2 separate regions of the Homo sapiens genome follow, and region 1 is linked to region 2. Evidence: promoter capture Hi-C in human tissues and cell types (Jung and others, 2019). All regions are on one chromosome and are shown on one strand. The core of a region is centred on a gene start or on the middle of the fragment in contact, and the rest is flanking DNA. Distances in the headings are between cores, read along the strand shown.

Evidence for each region. Contacts are between HindIII fragments. The study calls those that stand out against the background at their distance.
Region 1: a fragment that was not itself captured here is called in contact with the fragment with the promoter of DSEL in region 2 in 1 of the 25 tissues and cell types used here (bladder).

Annotation. Positions count from the first base shown.
Region 1 is chr18:68,555,574-68,560,861 of GRCh38, forward strand. No RefSeq gene overlaps it. Among named protein-coding and RNA genes, the nearest start is that of TMX3, 160 kb to the right of the region's middle. The HindIII fragment of the contact is 3,483 bases long and covers 1,573-5,055 here.
Region 2 is chr18:67,514,500-67,519,991 of GRCh38, forward strand. DSEL (dermatan sulfate epimerase like) reads right to left here and starts at 2,221. Exons shown (of 2, transcript NM_032160.3): 1 at 1,862-2,221; 2 at 1-993. The coding sequence starts at 109. It overlaps DSEL-AS1 (DSEL antisense RNA 1), which reads left to right and starts at 2,047. Exons shown (of 5, transcript NR_033921.1): 1 at 2,047-2,250. The HindIII fragment of the contact is 11,831 bases long and covers 1-4,725 here.

The DNA.
Region 1 (5,288 bases), core at 2,064-4,563, 1.0 Mb after region 2:
ATTGCAAGACAATATTCTTTTTATTAATTGACCTAGGAAAAGATTTGCTACCGGAAAAGGGTCCTGATCCAGACCCCAAAAGAAGGTTCTTGAATCTGGCACAAGAAAGGATTTGGGGCAAGTCTATAGAGGAAAGTGAAAGCAAGTTTATTAAGAAAGTAAAGAAAGAAACAAAAGAATGGCTACTCCATAGGCAGAGCAGTCGTGAGGGTTGCTGGTTGGCTATTTCTATGGTTATTTCTTGATTACATGCTAAACAATTGGTGGATTGTTCGTGAGTTTTCCAGGAAACAGGTGGGAAATTCCCAGAACTGAAGGTTCCTCCCTTTTTTAGACCATATAGGGTAACTTCTGGGCATTGCAGTAGCATTTGTAAACTGTCATGGTGCTGATGGGAGTGTCTCTTAGCATGCTAATACATTACAATTAGCATTTAATGAGCAGTGAGGATGACCTGATGTAGCTTTCATTGCCATCTTGGTTTGGTGGGTTTTGGCTGGTTTCATTACAGCATCCTGATTCATCAGCAAGGTCTTTATGACCTGTAACTTGTGACCTCCTATCTCATCCTGTGACTAAGAATGCCTAACCTCCTGGAAATGCACCCTAGCAGGTCTCATCCTTATTTTACCCAGCCCCTGTTCAAGATGGAGTCACTTTGGTTCACATGCCTCTGATAGTATCTAAGTCTTGTGAAAGGATTTGGCATTGTTGATGTGGGGCTAGTGAAAACCAAGGGAGGAAAGAGCACTTGTCTTACAGTGTTTTATTCATTAACTCACCTTATGTATATGTGTAGATGTAGATACAGCTATGGATGTAGATTTATATAGAGAAATATAGCAACTCTTAGGTATGGCACTATGATAGTTATTAAAGGGTATTTTAAAAATTGTTGCTTTCCAGAGTTTAAAATAATGTTAGCAAAACAAGATAATTATATAGTCTTTTGGATGTTTATTCATACTTTTTGGGTAGTGTGAATATAGAGAACAAATGTATCATGGTTTAAAACATCAGAATTTGATTTTTTTTCTCTAAAAATTATATACTAGCAAATACTATTGTTCTTAATTCAACAGATTAAATTATCATAAACACTGACTATGCTTGAAAAATAGAACTTTTCAGCCAGGTGTGGTGGCTCATGCCTGTAATCCCAGCACTTGGGGAGGCCGAGGCGGGCGAATCACCTGAGGTCAGATGTTTGAGACCAGCCTGCCCAACATGGCAAGACTCCATCTCTACTAAAAATTAAAAAAAAAAAAAAAAATTAGCTTGGCGAGGTGGCGGGTGCCTGTAGTTCCAGCTACTCAGGAGGCTGAGGCAGGAGAATCACTTGAACCCAGGAAGTGGAGGTTGCAGTGAGCCGAGATCGCACCGCTGCACTCAAACCTGGACAAGAGTGAAACTCTGTCTCAAAAAAAAAAGAAAAAAGAAAAAGAAAATAGGACTTTTCCAAAAATTTAAAAGTGGGTTTAAAGAATGTCTGTGCAGCAGCTTTAAGATTTGTTAAACAAATGGATCCATGCAAACAGAAGCAATTAGTATTATAGAGTTTTCATTTTGTAAATTTGCCAGACTAAATATTTTATTAAATTTGTGTCTGCTTTAAAAACTCTTGCTGCTAAAACAGTTTTGTAAATATAAACCATATTGAGAGGGGAACTGGAGTGGCTAACTTCACTCAGCCCACCGCTGGCCACTCTCCTCGTGAGAGGGAGCATGTAAGCGAGTGCAGGAACCAGAGGGAAGGAACACTGAAACCGGCCAGTCACTCCTTTCTGGCAGGAGCAGGCTCTATGCAGGCTCTGCAGCAGTGTCCAAGCTCCTGCCCTCTTGGCACTCAGGTTCTTGTCTGGCCTCCAGGAAGAATCAGGTCGCACAAATGGATTGAAGGGTAGTGTATGCAGAGGATTTTAATGGGTGATAAAAGTGGCTATCAGAGGGGTGGGGAATTGGAAAGGGGATGGTGTAGGAAGAAGGTGATCTATCCCTGAAGACATACTGTCTGAAGTTAGCCGCATCTATCTGTAGTCTCTGATGCTAAGTTGCTGCTTCTCTGCCTACTGCTTAGCAGCTTGTATCCCTCTGCTAGCTAAAGTCTTTTAGGTAGTGTGAATGGGCACAAGATAGAGGCATGGCAGGTCAAAAAAGCAACATATGGGTGGAAAAATGGGGTCAGCTGTTTTCACTTAGAACCAGGTTCCAGGCTTAAGGGTGGATGTTTAGCCAGGAGCCCAGCTGTTCTGTATCAATACTATTGTCTAATTTCATCACGGCGCTTCAAAATGATACAAAAAAGACTCGTGACATAAAATTATATATATATATAACTGGGCACAGTGGAATGCATCTGTACTTCCAGCTACTCAAGCGGCTGAGGCAGGAGGGTCTTGAGCCCAGGAGTTTGAAGCTGTAGTGTGCCATGATCATACCTGTGAATAGCCACTGTACTCCAGCCTGGGCAACATAGGGGACCCCATCACTAAAACAAACATATGACAACCAGAAAAAACCCACTTCATATATATGTAATACACACACACACATGAATTTCATGTCAAGGATGAGGAACAGTAATTGTAAGGAGAATGGACTTGGATGACTGTAGCTGAAAGTAACCTGTGGGAAAAGACAATGAAAGTCTGAGGCTCAAGGTGTAAGTCCAGGGGTTTTGTTAGCAACATTTGAGAACAGAAAAGGCTCAGGCCCAGGACTTAATCACAAGAGCAGCAGAAGTGGAGAAAATGTTGGATTCTCAGCTCGGAAGGTCTTCCAGATGAAAGTCAGAACACTGAGTGATTAGAAGTGGCAGCATGAAATAAGAGCTGCAGCACGAGTTAATGCACCTGAAAATGTGAATTCGCCGATTTCTATGAGCCTCTAGGCCTGCAGAATTAGCCAACTGCTTTGGATTTAAGGAGAATGCCACCCCTCCTACCCCTATTTCTTGAAGAAAATGACTTTCTTGCCGGTAAATATATGACCCTTAAGGGCAAACACATATTAAAAATAAGAGGCTTAATTCTGGCTGTTAAAATAAGGGAAAAGACTCCCCCACCCCCTTTTTTTAGAGCTTTGACTTTAGAACATGTGTTAAGTTTTCTCTTTGAAATATATGTAAATCTTTTAAAAAGCTAAATAAGCCTCTTGCCCACTTTATAACCCAGGAATGTCTTTTTTAAGAACCTGGGAATCAACCCTTTGAAATGTGACCATGAGGGAAGACAGCAGCCCTAGCACCCAGTTTCTAAAGAAGGTAGGAAACCTAACTTCATGGCACCTTGCTCCAAGTTGCAAAACTACAATACCTCTAGTCAGAAAGATGTGAGACATTTATGTTTCCTTTGGACAAAGTCAATTAGCAAACACAGATGGCCACCCTAATTACCAGATAAGCTTAGGATGAACGACATGTGACAAATGGTAGTGCCAAGTCCTTTTACTTGAGGGCTAATTATTATATATCTTGAAAACTTGAGCGTAATGTGTTGTGTTTGCCTGCTATATCAAAGGGTGAGATGTCTTTCTGGTTTTGCAATCTCTTAGCAGATTTCCTGTAATGCGCATCACATTATGGTTTAATGATTATTCAATAATGAAACTGTTTTCTTTCTTTTCTACTTCTATGGAGAGGTTTTCTACGTTCAAAGGAAATTGTGTTTTAATTATATTTCCCCAACAACCCCATCTCCAGGTCAGCCCTTCTCTTCCGGCCACCAGATCAATAACTGACAAGAGAACTGCTGGGTGTCCTGAGGAGTAGTTGGGGCCACAGGCCAAAGGAGCCACAGGACAAGGCTAACATGAACCCCAGGAACTGTGTGCAGCTGGAATGAATCCGATGGTGGTGGATCAATAGAAGAAGAGCATAGAGATGGATATGAGAATTCTCAATCTGGGAACACTCCCAGAAGATAGGATTTAATCCCCTAGTAGGAGTCCCAGGAGGCCATTCTAATATTACCACTGGGTAACTTTGAAGCTTAGAAAAAGTGATGCTTCATATCAACTGTAGTTAAAATAGAACAACAATGGCATACTCTACAGGATGACTGCAAATGATTTATAAAAGAGGATTTGCTAAATTGGTTCTATATCTGAGATCCAGTACCCCTGCCTACTCTGCTTCTCAGGAGGACCTGCCTGAAACTCTACATATCAAAGAAATAAGGAAGGCTGATCTCAGTTTATCAGAACAATAAGGAATGTCTATCTTACCAGTATCATTATCAAGTGATAGCTATCTTCTATAGACCTGGGATGATGGCAGGAGAGGCTCTTACAGAAATGTGCTCCCTGATAGCAATGGGAATAATAGAAACCTCGAATAAGAAAGGCAAGGCAGAGGACCTTCATGGGGGCAGTTATCATAATGAGCAGCCAAAATGGTACCTGAGCATGGGAGTTATGTGAATAGTTAACAGAAGATGACTTTCCCAGGAGCAAGATGTATGGGCATCAGATAAGAATACTGTTCTATCTATACAATCAAACTAATTCAAGAATGGGTGATTAGGAGTTGAGAGCAGTCATCCCCAAGAAAGATCACAAACTTTTGGCTAGTTTTAGGACATAAGACAGTTTTCATGGAGCCCATTTCTTGGAAAGAGAAGCTGGATTGCAAGCAGGTTGGACCCTGAAACACCACGGTAAATGAATAAGGCAATAATTCCCCAAGCTCATCCCCAAAAGACCTATGGCTATTTACTCAGCAACTATGTATTCTGAACAAGGGGAATACTTATACATTACTCATACAATACTCATACATTGATAACTAGAAACACAAAGCATCATCACATCCCTCTCTGAAAGAGTGCAGGTTATATGAGGGCCACGTTATAGAATTCTGGCCCAGGACCAACTCACATTGGGTCCTCTGGGGCCATGGACTCTACTAGTGGATTGAAAATAATTAGTAGTTGGCAGAACCTTCAGGGTCCTTGGTTTGGTGGGCTAAGAATTCTCACAGGAGGAAAGACCAGTTGAAAGCCTCTGAAATCACCTTTACCCCTGCAGTCAAGATAGCAGATCAAACATTAATGTTGCATTGTAGAGTCTAGGGTAAAGATTAGAACCAGCGTTTGGACCTAAAGGTTACTGGAGTGGTGGTGCCATTTTATCTCCATTTAATTCATTGAGCTAGATCAGAGATTGGCAAACTTTTTCTGTAAAGAGATAGATAGTAAATACTTTAGGTTTTGTGGGACATTCAGTCTCTGTCCCAAACATTCAACTCGGCCTTTGTAGCACAAGCAGCCATAGACAATACCTAAATAAAT
Region 2 (5,492 bases), core at 971-3,470:
CTGTGAAAACTGCCCATTCGGAATAATTGCTCACAGATTCCTCAAAAGTAGAGAAAGCAAACATCAATAATGCTAAGAATAGTAAATGTCCTGTAAACATTAACGCCATGATCCATGGGGGAGCTCCTCCCTTAGGCATACATGTCAGATATGATGCTCAATGTGTTTCCCATCTGGTTAGTATAAAACATACAGTAAAGGCCTTGATAAGACAAAGACTGTAAATCTGATATGCTGTGAAATCCAGCTGACATTCAGTACATTTTAAGCAAGTGCAGTTGCCAAAAAGAGAAAACTTAAATTGTATATCTCTGTCCCTGGCACAGTTTTGCTTCCAGTAAAACTTTGAATAACGTTAAAATCTCTAATTTTTCCATAATACACAGGGAAGTGATACAGGTAAAAAACACTATGAATTTAGCATTTACCTCCTTTACTTAAATCTATTTAACACAAAGAGTTGGAACACACATTGTAAAAAAAGAGAAAAAGCACTCCAAAATTCAAATTAAGAGTCATTTCTAGCACAGAAAACCATCACTGGTGATAAGCTCACCACACATGTATGATGCATTTGTGTATGTTTGCCCAAAGAAGATGATGAAGTACTGACATTCTTCGAGTGAGTGGACTCAGTTGTCATTCCTCTCAACTTTTTATACTTCTTGTCTTGTGAATACGTTTTTCTTTCATTTATGAGAGAGAAACATCCTCAACAAGTGATCAAAGTCTTAGTTGGTTTTTAAAAATTCAAAATTCTTGCCTTCATTTCAAATATTTTTCAGGCTTACTTACTCATCAGCCTATTATGACAAAGAGAAATCATGTTCACATCTTCTTTTATCAGCTTCATGTGTACAAACATAAAAATGGAATATCTTCAGTCACCTAGATACTTCTCGTCCGATCATGAAGTAACCGCCAACGGGGAAAGAAAATTCCCCTTTCAGCAACAGTGAGGTCTCTCTTCTGCTCTTTTTTCATGACACTTTTCTGGGGATGGGGGACAAAATAAAAATTCTCTGAGGCTTCAGGTATGCTGAGAATGAATATAAACTGATGACTTAAACATTCTGCAATCACTTAATAGAAATTTTAGAATCACAGTAAAATCTCATATTATCTGCAACCTAAGCTAGGGCAAGTGATTTTTTTCTTATCCATTTACACGCACTTATTTGGAAACCAGTGACCGTCAGCAGAAGACAAGCAACTAACAATACAAAATATACAAGATAGAACTCTCCCGACAATATCTATAGTTTAACGCCACTAACGTGGCTTCAGTCACTTAAAAAATGTTTGTATTCAAATGCAGTTTACACAAAGATGAGTCCTGCTATCCTTGTTATTTCTTGTTCCCAAGGACCGAGGGACAAAAAACTGAAAGTTGAAAAGATCTTTTTTTTTTTTTTTTTTTTTAATTCCGGGGGAAGGTTTAGAGTTCATGGGATCAGAAGGTATCTTCCTAATGAGAACTACTCGGACCAGTCACTTTTCTCGGCGGGGTAACCGCGAATCGTGACCAGGCGCCAAGCCGAGGGGCGGGAGCTCCGCGCTCGGCGCTCACCTGTGGCCGAGTCCCTGTCCTCAGGTGGAGCCGCCAGAGGGAGCTCGGACCCCGGTGTCGAAAGACGCCTCTCCGTGCCCGTCCGCGGCTGGAAGAACCTAAGCAAGTTTCAGTCTTGGACAAGTCTCCCCTCTGTAGGAAACATTCAGGCTAGGAGTTTCCTGATCCGCCCCGCCTGTTGCATTTTTTCACTGGCGTCCTCCGACCCTGCCGCCCCCATTCTCCGCTCCCCGCTCTGGGGCTGAGTGAGGCAGGATGGCGAGAGACCCCTGAGCCACCAAGTCCGCTTACCTCAGGCAGATCCCGACGGGGGCTCGGCGCCGCACTGGGCCCCAAGGGAGACGGAGGTGGAGAGTTCCAGAAAACTGCTCTGCACGGCGGGCCAGGCTCCCGCGGGGCTCCGCAAGACCCCCGCGTCGTCTCCCGCGCTACGGCAGGCGCTGCCCCAGCTCGGTCTCCTCAGCCGCGCTCGGTCCCCGCGACCCGCACGGCCCGGACACGCCCGCCCTCAGGAAACGCCGGACGCTTGTGGGGGCAACCACGGACCGCAGGACAGAGACCCGCGGGCGGCGGGTTCTCTCGGTGGCGCCGTATCCAGAGCAGCGCCCGCGTGCCCAGGCGGTGATGTCGCCGCGGCCGAGGATCCTCTGTGCCAGCTCCGGCCGCGCAGCCCGGGGAGGGTGAGACGGCGACGCGGGCCGGCAAGCGGGGGCGGGGCGGAGGCAGGACGGGGCGGGGTTGAAGGCGGGGCTGAAGGCGGGGCCTCAGGGAAGGCGAGAGACAGCGACGCTGGCTGGCGGGCGTGGGGCGGGACGGAGACAGGACAGGGCGGGGTCAGAGGCGGGGCTTCGGGGAGGACGGGAGGAGCCGTGAGCAGGCCGGCGGCGGGCGGGGCGGGGCCGAAAGCAGGTGAGGCGGGGCCAAGCGCCCCGGGTTTCTAAGCGGAGGAAGCTCTAGGCGTTTGTGTTCTGGGCTTGCAGCGGTGGCCGCGCGCTCCCGGAGGAGTCGAGCTGGAGGAGGGGACAGTTTGGGAGTGCGAGAGTCTAAAGACGCTGCCAGGCTGGCGTTAAAACCTTTTGGTTATGGGAAGACGACAACTATATAATAGAGCCATAGTGGGGGCTGTGGGATTGACTCAAATGATGGGAGGAGCTGGAGTGGGAGGGGATAAGCCCTGGGACGACAGAAATCATCCTTTTGGAAAGAGCAAGGGCTGGGGAAGGAGGGAATGAGCACTCCCTTGGAACTGAGAGGCAGCCTGGCTGAGCTTGCTGTCCTTTGGAAAAGCAAAACCGAAATACCCAGATTAATATAGGAGGACAACTTCTGTAGCCCAGATGCTAACAAAGATCAAGGGAAAACAGAAAAGACTAATCAGCTTTACTGATGGAAAACAATTTCTCAGGCAGTATAAATAGGGGAAGCATGGGACAAACAAGTAGAAGGAGCCTCTTATTTAAAAATGGGACCTGGTATTCGGTAAAGACCTACATGCAGACAGGAGAAGGCAGTGTGCCCCGGCTACTACGACATGTGAGTGCAGTGCCAGGTCGTGGAAATCCTAGAGCAGGCTGGGACTCCTGTTGCACTCCACACATGGAGCTTCTCACAGATAGCTGAGATGACACTTTGGCATAAACCAACCCAAGCTCTGACCTCAAATGTAAAAAATAATAGCTTAGTAGTAATAAAAATACAGGGAAATATCAAGCTTCACAAATGAACAATTCCATTCTCAGTTGGGGATTAGTAACACATTCAGTCTCTTCATTTCCCATACTATTTTGGTAATATTTAATAAGATATATTTTAACATTTTAAAAATAAATGTCTTGCTTAGATCATTTGCTGCTGAAAATCAAACAGTAGACGACTGCTAGCAGAATAAATTTCAAATCATTTAACTTTGAGGTGAAATGTGGCCTCTAACTCCTCATCACTCTTCTGTTTTGGCCCCGTAGTAACCCCTAGCCCAGTCCAAATAGCCACACTTGCTTTTGCTTGGGTGCTTCAGTAACTATGCTTATTCCATTCTTTCCCTCACAGTGTCCTTTACCCAACCACCCCACTTACTAGTTAAAATTCTTCTGACTGTTGAAATTATCTGATCATCCAGGTCTCAACTCAGATGCTTACATTCTTCTGTAAATAACTCCTAAGTTTCCCTAGCCAGAATGTATTACTCCAGAACTATATCATTTGTACCTATATTCGGCCGTTTAGGTTGTTTATTTTCTGCTTTCTATTTCAACTGGTTGACTCCTGTACCCTATTCAAAACTCCTTCAAGTCATGAGTAGCACTCAAGTCCCCTTTGTAAGTACTATATCTGCTTTTGAAATGAGTTGAACCTCGAACAATTGGGCTGATACAGAGCCTCGTCTCCTCCACTGAGGTTTATTCCCAAACAAGGATCCTCTTCTGACACAACTTCCTGTAAAATCTGGATTGTGCCTCTACATGGCCCCTGATAGAGGAAGAGGACCCATGGCCTCCAACCACATTTATGAGAGAGTAGAGTTGGGGGAAACGGGGAGCTGACTCCAGAGATTCCTATCTGTTTGCAGAGGGGAGCCTAGAATTTAGGGTTAGTAAACACAGCTACTAGATGTACAGAACATTTCTCAGAACAAAGTGTGGGGCAGGGTTATTTCTATGGATTCAAAGTGTCTCATGATGCGAGGGCAAGGTGAGTCAGAGAGAATTAATGCGCGAACATCTGCCAGGCAAATATTCTTCCAATGTTGTTTTCAGATTTTGAAATATCAGTATGATCATTTTCACTTTAGAGAAGAATGAATTCAGGTACCGACATTGTGGCCTTTCAGCTCTGCCCCATGCATCTGTGCTGAAGCAGTGGGGATGCAGCTAGCCTCCCAGCATTCTCAGATGGGCTTTCAGACTAATTCATTTTGAACAGACATCTTTGCATAGTGGTAAAATGTGAATGCATTAAAATAAAACAAGAGCCACAACTGAACAATTCAAATCATTGGCAGAAAGGGTGGTAGGTAAATGGCACTGTCAAAAATGAAGAGAGTCTTGTTTTCTGTGAACTAAAAATGGATAGCTCCAATTATTGCTCCTTCCACACATGAAGATGGTACAAAGTTAGTTAATTATAAATAATGCATCCGACCATAGAAGGGATGAGCTATATGCTATGTTATTGTACATTAAAAACCTTTATGAGTGTGGCAAGAGACACATGTACCAACAGCTGCTAAATTCAGAATCCTGGAGCAGTATCTTATTTTAATGTAAGTGAAGAACAGTGCAGTCTATTGCTCTGGGGATTTCTCTCTATATAAAAGGATCTTAAATCTACATGAGATTTTACTCCGTGATTTCAAAGTACTTATGAAAATCTGTTTTCTTTATTTGCCTATCTTTCAACCTACCCACAACCACCTATCTTACAACAGAAACAATGCTTTCTAGAGTAGATTCTCCAGAACAGAAGCCTTTCTCGCGCTCCTTTCCTTCCTTTCTTCCTTCCTCTCTCTCTCTTTTATTTTTCTTTTAAAATTTTATTTCTCAACATCTATCCCAGAGCCTGGCACTTTTTGAAAAATGTTTGGTGAATGTTTAACATGAATTATCGCCCCCATTTTATGACAGAAGAGAAAAAGTCATAAAGGTCTAAAGTGGGTTACTACATTCTAAGCAGAGTCACACACTCTTTCTCCTGACTGTGCTGAGAAGCCTCTTACCACACAACCCATAATTGGAGCTATGCCTTGAGGTGACTTAATTCAAGTGAAACATGAGACTGGAAAGTCATACAACATTTTCAAGAGGATTTCTGCATTAATTGTATATGTTAAGATAGGCAAATTCAAGCTCTGAGCCTGAGAACGATAAAGTACAAGCCATAAAACAAGCCTAGACACTACATAAAGTCCCTGATCTAAAATCACATT